Regions from separate parts of the Homo sapiens genome. Here all the other regions are linked to region 1. Evidence: promoter capture Hi-C in 16 types of primary human blood cells and fetal thymus (Javierre and others, 2016). All regions are on one chromosome and are shown on one strand. The core of a region is centred on a gene start or on the middle of the fragment in contact, and the rest is flanking DNA. Distances in the headings are between cores, read along the strand shown. Region 1 holds the start of CFL2 (cofilin 2). Region 2 overlaps PRORP (protein only RNase P catalytic subunit). Region 3 overlaps FAM177A1 (family with sequence similarity 177 member A1). Region 4 overlaps SRP54 (signal recognition particle 54). Region 5 overlaps SRP54 (signal recognition particle 54).

Region 1 (2,921 bases), core at 276-2,775:
GGGAGGGTAAGAGAGAATGGGAGGCATGGAAAGGGGTTGGAGTCCGAGCTAGGGGGTGACTAGCATCTTTGGAATCCCCAGCTTTGGTGGGTAAGGTTCTGACACCCACTTTAGGCCCCAGTGTCATCAGACCTGGTCTCTGCTGGGGCTGCTGCAAATCTCTGAGGTTGGGAAGGGAAGGTAACCGCAAGATGAAGCGAACAGGAATTTGCTAATACCTACACATAGCAGATGATCAGAGCTCTGGAGAGACATTCTCCATGACTTCTTGGAAGTTCAACAGATAAAGTGAAAGGTTCCATAAATTGTAATGTACCAGCTAGATATAAAGTATTATCCACTTGCTTGGGATTCATGCTTAGACATTGGGAAATCCCTTCTCAATTTTTGTCTCTAAACGAAGTCTATCTTCCAATTAAGAAAACAAACCCAAGATATAGACAGAAAAATAGGTCTGTTTCAATGCCTAGCATGTTCCATTTAAAATACAGTAAATTTGGGCTGAAAGAACTTATCACGCAATCTAGGGCAAACACCATCTCATGACTTTCCTGCCTAACCTCAATCCTGAGACCACCAAAAACACACCATTTCCTACTGAACATTGATATACTCAGAAACTGAAATCTAAAGCTGGAAAGGGCCTTAACGATAATTTAATAACAGTTTGTTTTACACATGAAGAACCCTGAGGTATGGAGGAGTTAAGATTAAAAAAAGAGAAACTGCCTTGGCGCAGTTATATGGGCTTTGCTAGAAGAGGCTGCGTCGGCTTATTTGATATCAGCTGTCATAGCTGGAGCTTCATGAAATCTCTAAGAGAGAGTACAATCCATTTCCTATGAAGTCTAAAATGTAAAAGGATATTACTAAGGAATGCTACCACGTAATTTTTTAATCATAATTATTATTTCAACCAGAGTTTTGAAAAGTGATTTACCAACACTGCGTATCATTTTGTTTTTGCTAAGTACTATCAACTGGAGCAATCTCGTGTAGTATTTATTCTCATTTATCTCTAAACAACTGGGGGTTTTCCAAAAAGACTCAAAATGTCGAAATCCAGCCTCTTTCGGGAAAACCACAGGTAAATAAGGAAAGACACCTTCGCAGGAGTTCCCCTCACACGCACCCACCCCTGGCGCAGGGCCCTACGGAGGCGGTGGAAACGCCCCTCTGGGAGCCCAGCACTCTCTCCCACCGGCTTGACGGGTGATGCTCGGGGGCTGGAGGCGGCTCTGCCAGGCTCCCGGGCTCCGCTACCACCGCGTCGCCCCCCCCGGCCTGCAGGGCTCGCGCTCTGAGGTCAGGCCGAGGACGCGGACAGCCGGGGAGCCGGGGCCGCGAGACAGAAGGGCCGGCCTGGGAGCGGGTGGCGCCGGCTGGGGACCAGGCGTGCCCACGTGACCGCCCCGCCCGCTGCCTGCGGCCCGCCGAGCCCCGCCACCTCCCTCGGGCTGCAGCTCCCGGCGTGCCCCGCACTCTCCGCTGCCCACCCGCTCGCCCGCCCCTCCTTCTCCTCCCAGTGCCACAGAGCCGAAGCCCGAGCTGCCGCCGCAGCCACAGCCGAGGGCACTATGGTAAGACGAGCGCGCTGGCCGGGAGGCCGCGGCGAGGCGAGAAAAGCCCCCCGCACGGCCCCGGGAGTGAGGCCGCCATTTTAACCTGATTTTGGCCTCCAAGGTGGGCGCTTCTGCTCTGCGGCTCCGCTGCTCTCCAGCCGACCGGCCTGCCCTCCGGCCGTCAGGCCCTGCCCTGCTGCTCTTTGGATTTTGGGGGGCGGGGAGGGCCCGGGCGTCGGCGCAGGTTGGGGGTCGGGGCCGGGCGGGCGGGGGCGCGAGAGGGTCTGCGGACTGCAGCCGCTCGCGCCGCCTTTGCCCTTCGCTTCCTAATTTTACTTAACACGCGAGGCTTTAAAATTGGTACGTGCTGCGAACGCTGTGTGGGTCAGGGTCTGGACGGCCTGTAATAAAACCCTTACGGGGAGATTAAGGAAGAGGGAAAACACTTTTTAAAATGCTTTCTCGCCGTAAAAGCTTTTACACTCGATCAGTTAGTTTTGGAGTGTCTGCATGTGAGCTGTGTGTGGGCCGTGGGCGGTTTGGAGTTTACACTTGATTCTCTTTCCTTATGAGGAAACGTCAGTGGCTAGGATGACTTTAAAGAAAAAAATAGTAGAAGCATTAACTGAAATCCAAAAGTGTTTTTTTAAGGCCAGCCGAGTTGACACAATACAGAAGGTATTTTTGCTGCCACTCCTGAAGCTCTGACATCACCCAGTGAAATAGGAAACATTTCAGGGATGGGACAACTTGTATTTGTCCCTTTCGCTTCCACGTCCAAACCCCTTTAAGAAGGATGAATGGGCAGGATGAGTTAGACTCCTTCGCTGTATCGTCTACTGATTCTTAAAATGTGACAAATCTGATTGGACGACTTACATGGTACGGTGCAATTTTTGATGTCCAGACTAAAGTGAGTCTTCTCTAGGCAAACAGTAATTTTGGTTAAAACCAAAATACGTGTTCTGAATTACTGTTCTGTGTTTATTTTCAGGCTTCTGGAGTTACAGTGAATGATGAAGTCATCAAAGTTTTTAATGATATGAAAGTAAGGAAATCTTCTACACAAGAGGAGATCAAAAAGAGAAAGAAAGCAGTTCTCTTCTGTTTAAGCGATGACAAAAGACAAATAATTGTAGAGGAAGCAAAGCAGATCTTGGTGGGTGACATTGGTGATACTGTAGAGGACCCCTACACATCTTTTGTGAAGTTGCTACCTCTGAATGATTGCCGATATGCTTTGTACGATGCCACATACGAAACAAAAGAGTCTAAGAAAGAAGACCTAGTATTTATATTCTGGTGTGTAAAAACAAAAGAAAAAAGTACTTTTAAAATGCAAGGATTATTATTATCATA
Region 2 (2,921 bases), core at 167-2,666, 440 kb before region 1:
ATCTGGTACTTAATAATCAGTTCTTGTTTACTAATAGTCATCTGACGTTTCTCTGATTGTAAGTGGAGAAGCCTTGTACCATCAACACAATGGTGAATGACTTGGGAAGAAACCACATCCAAAAATATCCACAGGTCTGGCCCATGTTTAGGATAGGCTCCTAAGTATATTTTGAAAAAAATGAACGTCCGGGCGCGGTGGCTCACGCCTGTAATCCCAGCACTTTGAGAGGCCGAGGCGGGAGGATCACGAGGTCAGGAGATTGAGACTATCCTGGCTAACATAGTGAAACCCCATCTCTACTAAAAATAAAAAAAATTAGCTGGGCGTGGTGGCGGGCGCCTGTAGTCCCAGCTATTTGGTAGGCTGAGGCAGGAGAATGGCGTGAACCCAGGAGACGGAGCTTGCAGTGAGCCGAGATGGAGCCACTGCACTCCCGCCTGGGCGACAGAGCAAGATTCCGTCTCAAAAAAAAAAAAAAGAAAAGAAAAAAGAAAAAAATGAACTACCATTATTAGGGCAAGAAATATTGACAACGACTACAAAAAAAGGTATTAATTTATGATAGGAACTTTCACCTAAGTCTAATGATTCCTAAGCATCTACTCTGCGAATAAGTTCTTTTCATTTCCCACTGACATTGTATCTGGGGACACTGTACCTTGATATGGCCTTATCATATTTTCTTGAAAAACACCCTCTGCCTATTTTTCTCATTTTGGAGAATTTTACAGGTTAAATAATCAAGATAAGCATTTATACTGCATGAATCTGCAAAGGAACTACAGTATTTTTATTGATATGACAGAATGCACTTTTGCCATTAGTGGTTTTTCAGTCAGCTTGCAAAGAATCACACTGTTAAAGCAGTGATCAGCCTAGAGAGAAGCCTGCTTTTGAGACAACCTGAGTTATCTGCTAATTCAAAACATCTGAACAAAAATATTCCTGGCACAAATGCAGTGAACTCATTACAAAAACAAAAACAAAAACAAAAATAAAACACCTATGTTTAAATTAGCCCTGTAGGTAGCTCAATCCATATGCATTCCACCCTTCCAATTTTAAGTCTCTGAAAGAAAAGCCAGCACTCTTTTAAACACAGGAAATCACATTTTACTTCTCTGCAGCTGCTTCATAACCAAGGAAAATGCAAAAGCAAAGAGGAAATGTGCCGGAGATCTTATTAACAAAGAGTGGAAATCCCCACACTCCACATCTCCCAGTTAGCACTGTTGGGGACATAGGCTCTCAGGTTCATATTTCCCTTTGTGAAATGCCTAACCACACCAGAATTAATCTGCAGTTGCCACCTATGATAAAAGCAGGGGTTGTGCACACTGGAGTATTCCACATTGCCTCTTCAGCTATAGCTTTTACCACACAATGGATTAACTTGTACAGGATTTTTTCAAACTCCTCCCCTAACCCAGAAAAAAAATGTTAATAACCTCTTTGCAAAGCAAAAACAATGCAGTACAGTAGGAAACCTTTATAGAATTGACTCTGAATCTAAATTAGTTGTTCTACTCTATTAAGAAATTTTATCTTGTGCGTTTCAAAAATGGAAAAAGAAACGTGCAAATGACATGACAATTTTCAGCATTTAAAAAGTATAATTTGCTTTAAGAAGGGGACTTTCATTCTCTATAGTGGTATTTCTGAACTGTTTATATCCTTTCTAATGAATATATACTATTTATATTATAATGAATATATAATATGTTTACTTGAGGAAATCTTTACTATAGGAAGATTAGGAAGATGTTGCTTCTGCATGAAAATCACTAAGAAAGCACTGTTTTATAATCTCCCTTTTCATAACTTCTATCCTGAAAGCATATGTGTATTTGTCAGCTTTTTTTTTTTTTTTTTTTTTTAAATAGACACCAGGTCTCGCTATGTTGCCCAGGCTTGTCTTAAACTCCTGGGCTCAAGCAATCCTCCCACCTCAGCTTCCCGAAGTGCTGGGATTACAGTTGTGAGCCACCACAGCTGGCCCTTTGTTAGCTTATAAAAAAAGATTTTCAAGATGAAAATCTTAAACATATATAAAAGTAGACAGAATAGTATAATAAATCCCCATGAACCCATAAACTAGCTTTATCATCTCATGACCAATCTTGTTTCATATATAACTCCATCTATTCCATCCCCTATTTCCCAGTTATTTTTGAAGCATATCTCAGACATCACATCATTTAATCCATAAATATTTCAGTGTTTAGCTCTGAATCTAAAGAGTTTGGGTCAGGCATGGTGGCTCACGCCTGTAATCCCAGCACTTTGGGAGGCCAAAATGGGAAATCACTTGAGCCCACGAGTTCGAGACCAGCCTGGGCAACATGGTGAAACCCCCTCTCTACAAAAAGTACAAAACTTAGCTGATGTGGTGGCAGGCACCTGTAGTCCTAGCTACTCAGGAGGCTGAGGTGGGATGATCACCTGAGCCCGGGAGGTTGAGGCTGTGGTGAGCTGTGATTGTGCCACTGCACTCCAGCCTGGGTAACAGATTGAGACCCTGCCTCAAAAAAAAAAGAGTTTTAACTCACTAGCATTATTAACCCTAAATAAAAATCAACAAAAATGTCTTAATAACTCCAATAACTGGTGTTCAGATTCCTCTGATTGTTCAAATCAGGAACTAAGGGCCCAATATGATCCATACACTGCAAATGGTTGCTTTATCTCAAATTGCTTTTATCTATAGATCATTGCTCCATCTCTTTTTTTTTTTTTTGGCAATTCATTTATTGGAAGAAACTGGGTTGTCTTGCAGTTTCCCACAGATGGTATTTGGTAATTGTACCCTTGAGGTGTAATTTAACATATTCCTCTGCCCCCTGTATTTCCAGTAAATTAGTAGTGAGCTCTAGATGCTTGATCAGATTCATGCATCTAGATTCAGGTTTGATATTTTC
Region 3 (2,921 bases), core at 265-2,764, 360 kb before region 1:
TTGAATCAATTACTATTCACAATTAGCTCTAATAAAATGCAGAAAGTGATAAAAAGCTATGAGGGAGTTAAAAATGGAAGCAGAAGAAAGCTTCATAATTTAAAACCTATATTTTAAATTAGCATTATTAAGTTATAAGTTGATAATTCATTTCCTTCAAATATGACTTAGTCACATCTCAATTTAAGAAATGGAATATTAATGAAATAGAAATATAAATTAACTATAATACAGGCTTTAGAATAAGCAGTGAGACAGATTGAGAATGTTATCAATTGGAAACCAAATGACAAAGCAGCAAAATAGCTGTTAAGAGAAAGGGTTTAAGAACTTGAGGCCGGGCGCGGTGGCTCACGCCTGTGGTCCCAGCACTTTGGGAGGCCGAGGCGGGTGGATCATGAGGTCAGGAGATCGAGACCATCCTGGCCAACAAGGTGAAACCCCGTCTCTACTAAAAATACAAAAAATTAGCCGGGCGCGGTGGCGGGCGCCTGTGGTCCCAGCTGCTCGGGAGGCTGAGGCAGGCGAATGGCGTGAACCCGGGAAGCGGAGCTTGCAGTGAGCCAAGATTGTGCCACTGCAGTCCGCAGTCCGGCCTGGGCGACAGAGCGAGACTCCGTCTCAAAAAAAAAAAAAAAAAAAAAAAAAGAACTTGAAAACCATATCTAAACTAACATAGTCATTTTTCATTCCTCAAAAAATAAACTATATTGGAAGCTGAAGAATGTTTTAATGTGAAGTACAAGTTAGGTTACTATCTCCCAATGCTAGCTAGCTCTTGAGGACAGTGATTAACTCCCTATTGTTTCTCCTTCAGTTTGGAAACATCCTATTTAGCAAAGTTCCTGTTGCTGAAGCATGTTACAGCAATTATACAATATTCAAGCAGAAAAGCAATACCTGAGAGAGTTGATGTAGCAGCCCGAAGCATGTAAAACCATAAGTAGGGACCCCAGGTAAGTTTTGTCTGCAACAAGAAATCATGTTAGCAACATTCATACCTAAATTCATTCCATATATTTAGGCCAGAATGAAGTAGTCAAATACTTGGTAGGCACCGAGAATATTCTATAGGCAGTACTACAAAGAGACTGCAATCCAATCAACAATTTAAAATCTGTAGAGTTAAAATTCCACAAAGATATTTTACATTCACCCATATAACTACCACCACCTTAAGCCCATAGAAGAATCAAAAAAAGATGCAGCCGCTGAAATGGAGTTGGTAATCGCAGTCTGGATTATTTTATGAGTTGACAATCCAGAGCTTTCCTTTCTCCTGTCTTGCTGCATTTTTGTCTCCACTATTTATAAACACAACACCAGAGGGGGTGTTCAGTCAATAGAAAGAAACTTAAGGATGCCATCTGACATACTTATGCTATAGCAGGGAAATTAAGGTTCAGAGAAATTAAGCAGGATATGTAAGGGAACATCAAATGAGCTTTTAATGGTGGGAAAATAAGGGACAAATAAGCGGCAAGATAAGTTTCGTTTGTTTCTTTAAGTCTTTTTTTTTATTATTATTATACTTTAAGTTCTAGGGTACCTGTGCACAACATGCAGGTTTGTTACATATGTATACATGTGCCATGTTGGTGTGCTGCACCCATTAACTCGTCATTTACATTAGGTATATCTCCTAATGCTATCCCTCCCCGCTCCCCCCACCCCACAACAGGCCCCAGTGTGTGATGTTCCCCTTCCTGTGTCCAAGTGTTCTCATTGTTCAATTCCCACCTAAGAGTGAGAACATGCGGTGTTTGGTTTTCTGTCCTTGCAATAGTTTCCTCAGAATGATGGTTTCCAGCTTCATCCATGTCCTTACAAAGGACATGAACTCATCCTTTTTTATGGCTGCATAGGATTCCATGGTGTATATGTGCCACATTTTCTTAACCCAGTCTATCATTGATGGACATTTGGGTTGGTTCCAAGTCTTTGCTATTGTGAATAGTGCCGCAATAAACATACATGTGTATGTGTCTTTATAGCAACATGATTTATAATCCTTTGGGTATATACCCAGTAATGGGATGGCTGAGTCAAATGGTATTTCTGGTTCTAGATCCTTGAGGAATCGCCACACTGTCTTCCACAATGGTTGAACTAGTTTACACTCCCACCAACAGTATAAAAGTGTTCCTATTTCTCCACATCCTGTCCAGCACCTGTTGTTTCCTGACTTTTTAATGATCGCCATTCTAACTGGTGTGAGATGGTATGTGATTTTGATTTGCATTTCTCTGATGGCCAGTGATGATGAGCATTTTTTCATGTGTCTGTTGGCTGAATAAATGTCTTCTTTTGAAGTGTCTGTTCATATCCTTTGCCCACTTTTTGATGGGGTTGTTTGATTTTTTCTTGTAAATTTGTTTGAGTTCATTGTAGATTCTGGATATTAGCCCTTTGTCAGATTAGTAGATTGTAAAAATTTTCTCCCATTCTGTAGGTTGCCTGTTCACTCTGATGGTAGCTTCTTTTGCTGTGCAGAAGCTCTTTAGTTTAATTAGATCCCATTTGTCAATTTTGGCTTTTGTTGCCATTGCTTTTGGTGTTTTAGTCATGAAGTCCTTGACCATGCCTATGTCCTGAATGGTATTGCCTAGGTTTTCTTCTAGGGTTTTTATGGTTTTAGGTCTAACATTTAAGTCTTTAATCCATCTTGAGTTAATTTTTGTAGCAAACTTGACAAAAACAAGAAATGGGGAAAGGATTCCCTATTTAATAAACGGTGCTGGGAAAACTGGCTAGCCATAGGTAGAAAGCTGAAACTGGATCCCTTCTTTAAGTCTTAAAAAAGGACTAGACCATAGAACCCAAGACAAGTTCAGTGCATATTTGGTAAGCCAGGGCCACTGGCAGAATGCAATCCACAATGCACACCTACGTAGTTAATCTTGGTTCTATAATTCCAAATG
Region 4 (2,921 bases), core at 219-2,718, 310 kb before region 1:
ATTAGTGATTTGTCCTAAGAGTTTGTTTATCAGCATTTAAAACTTCTAAAAAGTATTTCAAGTTTGGTGTGACATAGCTGTGTGTATACCCACTGCCAACTTCATCTTGGGTTATTCCTTTATTGAGGGATCAATGCATAGATAAGATCTGGATGGTGAATCTGTTCTATCAAGAACAGTCAGGACTACATGGGAAAGACATTACAGTGATGTAATGTGTTTATTAGTCACTATCTGAAATAGCATGTGATGGTAGGAATTATAACCAATTTTCAACATGTTTGTCTAATTTTTTTGTCACAAAAGAGAAAATAGGATATCGCAAGGAAAATAAGGAAAGCTTCAAAGACAAAAGGTAATTTAAAACATCTGGAAATACTCATTCTTTTAGAAGCTATTCAATGGTATTGTTCATATTCAGAGCTTGTCTAATTAATATTTTTGGAAACAATAAATTCATTTTAATGGGTTTCAAGGCAAATTTTCACAGACTCTGAATTAGTTGTTTACATTATAGAAAAAAATCAAAAAGAGGACTGGAACAGTTGGAAGTCTTTGGAAAACCTTATCTTTTTACGATACATAATACACAGCAAAATAAATTCAATTGAGATTAAAAAGTCAAACACAAAATAAAAACAAAAACAAGTAGAAGCCAGGTGTTGTGGCTCATGCCTGTAATCCCAGAGCATTTTAGGAAGCTAAGGCGGGCGAATCACTTGAGGTTGGGAGTTTGAGACCAGCCTGGCCAGTAAAGATGGTGAAACCCAGTCTCTACTAAAAATACAAAAATTAGTTGGGCATGGTGGCACGTGCTTGAAATCCCAGCTACTCGGGAGACTGAGGCAGGAGAATAGCTTGAACCCAGGAGGCGGAGGTTGCAGTGAGCTGAGATCATGCCAGTGCACTCCAGCCTGGGCGACAGAGCAAGACTCTGTCTCAAAAAAAGAAGAAAATGGTGACAACTGTGGTATCAACATGGAGAAGGTTAACTTGATTACCTCTGTAAAGAAAAAAAAAAAAGGAAAAAATAAACAAGGGGAAGCTGTTTATGAGCATAAAAGAAATAAAAAAAGATAGGCTGGCTACATTAAAAAGGGCAACTACTGTTCATTATAAAATATAAATAAAAATAAAAGGTAAATGAAAAACTGGGGGAAAATATTTGAAGACATAAACCAAAGATTTTAAGGAGCTATTACAAAGATATAAGGGGGAAAAATGGAAGAACTGGACAGGGAACATGAAGAGGTGATTCACAAAGTAAATTCAAACCAGTAAATGTACAAAGAAATGTTAAACTTAATAATGTAAAAACACATATTGAGAAAATATTCAACCATTAAAATGGAAGTGAGGCCGGACGTGGTGGCTCAAGCCTGTAATCCCAGCACTTTGGGAGTCCGAGGCGGGCACATCATTTGAGGTCAGGAGTTCAAGACCAGCCTGGCCAACATAGTGAAACCCCGTCTCTACTAAAAATACAAAAATTAGCCAGGCGGTAGTGGTGCATGCCTTTAATCCCAGTTACTCGGGAGGCTGAGGCAGGAGAATTGTTTGAGCCTGGGAAGCAGAGGCTGCAGTGAGCCGAGATTGTGCCACTGCACTCCAGTCTGGGTGACAGAGAGAGACTCTGTCTCAAAATAATATAAATAAAGAAATATAATGGAAATTATATTACTACAAAATTTTTTTAGCTTCTACTATGTTTCTGATCAAAACAGGCAAAAATCCCTGGTCTCATGGAACTGCACAAAAACTGATCTGATATAGAAGTGAATGAATCAGCCTTACTGTCCAAAAAAGTGGCACTACATTAGACAAAGATACATGCATAACTTAAACAGTATTACTCAGAAGAAGTGTGTGTGTGTGTGTGTGTGTGTGTGTGTGTGTGTTTGGGGACCGGAGTCTCACTCTGCTGCCCAGGCTGGAGTACAGTGGTACAATCTCGGCTCACTGCAAGCTCCGCCTCCTGGGTTCAAGTGATTCTCCTGCCTCAGCCTCCCGAGTAGCTGGGATAACAGGTACACCCCACGACACCCGGATATTTTTTGTATTTTAAGTAGAGGCAGGGTTTCACCATGCTGGCCAGGCTGGTCTTGAACTCCTGACCTCAAGTGATCCGCCCGCCTCAGCCTCCCAAAGTGCTAGGATGACAGGCATGAGCCATCGTGCCTGGCCAAGAATTATGTTTTGAAGAATATTTGACAACATGGAAAAACAGTTATGATATATCAGAAGAAAACTTAGTTATAGCAACTGTTATTTGCAGTAGGATCCACTGGATTCTCTGGGGAGTAAAGGTAATGTGTTTTTTTTTTCCTTATATTATCTAAATTTAATATAATGTGTTCACAAAAAGAAAATCATTGCTTTATTAATTTTTTTTCATTTACCCACACTACACAGATGTAAAGTTTTTTTTTAAATATTAATATTACCTTGAATATGAAAACAGATAAATCACAGGTCACATAAATCCTGGAAGTACTTGAAAATAACATGAAATTCAGCTGTGAATTTTCCAATACTGGCAGCACTCTTTTTTCTCAACTTCCTTTCTTTTCCGTCTGTTAACTAATAACAAGCTTATTTTTCTTACCTTTGAAAAGTCCTTTGATACCTCCCATCTTTTTTACCATCTGTGCAAACTTGGTATATTGTGTCAAAAGTTCTTGAACATCTCTTGTTGATACACCCGATCCTCTTGCTACTCTTTGGATTCTTCCTGGTTGTTTACTAAAAACTTTGGCACCATCCGTACTGTCTAGTTCTGTAGACAAGGTCAGTTACTCTCACACACAATTATCATTCACCATCAAAGCAGTTATGTGCAAATGGGCAATATATAACTTCAAAGAGCTTAGCAGATGTTTTTAAAGTGATAACTATCTCATTTTTCTTTTTATATTACAAAA
Region 5 (2,921 bases), core at 1-2,500, 290 kb before region 1:
GGGAGGATGAGGCTGCAGCAAGCCATGATCACACCACTGCACTCCAGCCTGGGCAACAGAGTAAGACCCTGTCTCAAAAAAAAAAAAAACCAAAAAAACCAAAAAAACAAAAAACAAACAAACAAAAAACATGGTGGTGCATGCCTGTAGTCCTAGCTTCTCTGGAGGCTGAGGAGAGAAGATCGCTCGAGCCCAGGAATTTGAGGCCGCAGTGAGCTCTGATCACGCCACTGCACTCTAGTTTGAATGACAGGGACTCTGTCTTCAAAAATAAATAAATAAATAGAGAGTCCAGAAACTACTAGTATCATCTGGTGCCACTGCCTTGATTCATACCAGGGAGTTTTACCTACCATTGTTTTCAGTGCAAATGTCAACATAGTACAAAAGTCAAATAATGTCTTAGTATTATGAAAATAATTTTGACCTTGCTTTGTACACCATTCCTCTAGACCATAAGCATCTGAGTATAAGAACCAGTCTCATTTATTTCTGCTATCAGCAGCATTTGGCATACTTCCTGAAATAAAGTAGGTACTCAATAAATGCTTCTTAATAAAGCACTTGATGCTCCAGAATTGCCTACAGTTACGAGCCCCTAACAATAAAAATTTCTGGCCAGGCAAAGTGGCTGACATGTGTAATCCTAACACTTTGGGAGGCCAAGGCAGGTGGATCACTTGAGGTCAGGAGTTCAAGACCAGCTAGGGCAACATGGCAAAACCTTGTCTCTACAAAAAATGCAAAAACTAGCTGGGCGTGGTGGCATGTACCTGTAGCCCCAGCTACTTGGGGGGCACTGAGGCAGGAGGATTGTTTGAGCCCAGGAGGTTGAGGCTACAGTGAGCCATGATTGCACCACTACACTCCAGCCTGGGTAACAGAGTCAGACTGTCTCTTAAAAAAAAAAAAAAAAAAAAAAAAGGAGGCCAGGCACAGTGACTCATGGTTGTAGTCCCAGCACTTTGGGAGGCTAAGGCAGGCAGATCACTAGGTCAAGAGATAGAGACCATCCTGGCCAACATGGTGAAACCCCATCTCAACTAAAAATACAAAAAAAAATTAGCTGGGCGTGGTGGCACACACCTGTAATCCCAGCTACTTGGGAGGCTGAGGCAGGAGAATTGCTTGAACCTGGCAGGCAGAGGTTGCAGTGAGCAGAGATCATGCCATTGCACTTCAGCCTGAGTGACAGAGGGAGAGTCAAAAAAAAAAAAAGAAAATATTCAAACAATGTGGGGGAAAAATGATTGTAGAACTAGTGGGCATCTAATGCTCTAAAAAATTTTTTTTGTTTGTTTTTTTTTAAAGACAGGGTCTCACCCTCTCCCCCAGTCGGGAGTGCAGTGGCACAATCACGGCTCACTGCACCCCCGAACTCCTGGGCTCAAGCAATACTCCTGCCTCACCCTCCGGAGTAGCTGGAACTACAGATGTGCACCACCATGCCCGGCTAATTTTTGTATTTTTAGCAGAGATGGGGTTACACCATGTTGGCCAGGCTGGTCTCGAACGCCTGACCTCAGGTGGTTACCCATCTCAGCCTCCCACAGTGCTGGGATTACAGATGTGAGCCACTGCACCCGGCCTGCACCAGCTATTTTTATCAATTTTTTTTTTTTTTATAGAGACTGGTTCTCACTATGTTGCCCTGGTTGGTCTCAAACTCCTGGCCTCAAGCAATCCTCCCACCTCCGCCTCCCAAAGCACTGTGATTACAGGCATGAGCCACCATGCCTGGACTAAAATAATTTTTTTAACAGCTCCTTTCTTTTTTTTTCTACAACTGAGCCCATATATATTTTTTAAGCTCTAAGATTTTCACCATAATTTGCATGATCAGCAATAAGGTGAGGCAGGGCAACTGGCTATATTTACTATTTGAAAATAAAACTTTCACTAATTCAAAATTGCTCATAATCTAGGCAAGAATTGGGATACATGGTCTTTGCAAAGGGAATTCCTTACACAACGAACAGTGTAGAAAAGAATACTTGCTATATGTGACTTTGCCATACAAAAGCAGGACCATCACTAGGCAAAACATGATAGTGAACGAGGAAAAACTTAGGCCCTTCCATCAACAAATCTGTAGTGAAATTTCACTCATCGCATCTTGGCTTTGGCATTTTTTGCAGGAATAGTACTAGCTTTCATATCTGCACTCAGAATTATGTATATTCAGTAAAGTCTACAATAAAAATAGGTCCTGGCCAGGTGCAGTGGTTCACACCTATAATCCCAGCACTTTGGGAGGCCGAAGCGGGCGGATCGCCTGAGGTCAGGAGTTCAAGACCAGCCTGACCCACATAGAGAAACCCCGTCTCTACTAAAAATACAGAATTAGCCGGGCATGGTGGTGCACGTCTGTAATCCCAGCTACTCGGGAGGCTGAGGCAGGAGAATTGCTTGAACCCGGGAGGCGGAGGTTGCACTCCAGCCTGGGCAACAAGAGTGAAACTCCTTCTCAAAAAAAAAAAAAAAAAGGTCCCTAAGAAAACTCAATAATCCTTTCATTAATATTTTAATACAGATGAATATTCCATAAAAAACATATTTAAAAATTCTGAAATATTTGTAGTGCTAACGCTTTTTTATCCACTGAGTATAGAATCACAGCATAATCTTCATATACTTTTACCTTCACAAGTTCTTTAAATACAGCATGCTGAATCATTTTTCTTTTGTTAAGACCAGATGCCATCTCTTCAAGATCAATAGCAGACCTTTATGATGGTGGTTGGTGATTGGGGTGGGGAGGAGAAAATCAGTTAAGAAACTCTAAGAAAAAGAAGCTTCTGCTCCAAAGAATGTACAACATTCAGTCATTCATATTAATAGTCTTCCAATTAACATGCATGTAATTACTACAGACTCGTAAGTCTATATCATAAAGAGTTTTCCCATGAAGTATTAGATGC

Evidence for each region. Contacts are between HindIII fragments. The CHiCAGO score rates a contact against its expected background, and 5 or more counts as called.
Region 2: a contact is called between a fragment that was not itself captured here and the fragment with the promoter of CFL2 in region 1, in 1 of 17 cell types (naive CD8 T cells). The highest score is 5.4, in naive CD8 T cells.
Region 3: a fragment that was not itself captured here is called in contact with the fragment with the promoter of CFL2 in region 1 in 7 of 17 cell types (total CD8 T cells, naive CD4 T cells, total CD4 T cells and 4 more); the score reaches 6.8 in total CD8 T cells.
Region 4: a contact is called between a fragment that was not itself captured here and the fragment with the promoter of CFL2 in region 1, in 5 of 17 cell types (total CD4 T cells, monocytes, naive CD8 T cells and 2 more). The highest score is 5.9, in total CD4 T cells.
Region 5: a contact is called between a fragment that was not itself captured here and the fragment with the promoter of CFL2 in region 1, in 1 of 17 cell types (naive CD8 T cells). The highest score is 5.3, in naive CD8 T cells.

The regions. Positions count from the first base shown.
Region 1 is chr14:34,713,197-34,716,117 of GRCh38, reverse strand. CFL2 (cofilin 2) reads left to right here and starts at 1,525. Exons shown (of 4, transcript NM_138638.5): 1 at 1,525-1,580; 2 at 2,557-2,864. The coding sequence starts at 1,578. RefSeq lists silencers at 1,089-1,678, 1,769-1,828. The HindIII fragment of the contact is 2,283 bases long and covers 1-2,038 here.
Region 2 is chr14:35,154,520-35,157,440 of GRCh38, reverse strand. The region is part of intron 4 of PRORP (protein only RNase P catalytic subunit); the gene reads right to left. The region is part of intron 4 of PRORP-PSMA6 (PRORP-PSMA6 readthrough); the gene reads right to left. Among named protein-coding and RNA genes, the nearest start is that of PRORP, 33 kb to the right of the region's middle. The HindIII fragment of the contact is 4,902 bases long and covers 1-2,921 here.
Region 3 is chr14:35,075,196-35,078,116 of GRCh38, reverse strand. It overlaps FAM177A1 (family with sequence similarity 177 member A1), which reads right to left. Exons shown (of 5, transcript NM_173607.5): 3 at 901-967. Among named protein-coding and RNA genes, the nearest start is that of FAM177A1, 30 kb to the right of the region's middle. The HindIII fragment of the contact is 2,843 bases long and covers 93-2,921 here.
Region 4 is chr14:35,022,765-35,025,685 of GRCh38, reverse strand. It overlaps SRP54 (signal recognition particle 54), which reads right to left. Exons shown (of 16, transcript NM_003136.4): 14 at 2,606-2,776. Among named protein-coding and RNA genes, the nearest start is that of FAM177A1, 22 kb to the left of the region's middle. The HindIII fragment of the contact is 2,251 bases long and covers 343-2,593 here.
Region 5 is chr14:35,000,741-35,003,661 of GRCh38, reverse strand. SRP54 (signal recognition particle 54) reads right to left here. Exons shown (of 16, transcript NM_003136.4): 4 at 2,642-2,726. Among named protein-coding and RNA genes, the nearest start is that of SRP54, 19 kb to the right of the region's middle. The HindIII fragment of the contact is 3,095 bases long and covers 1-2,797 here.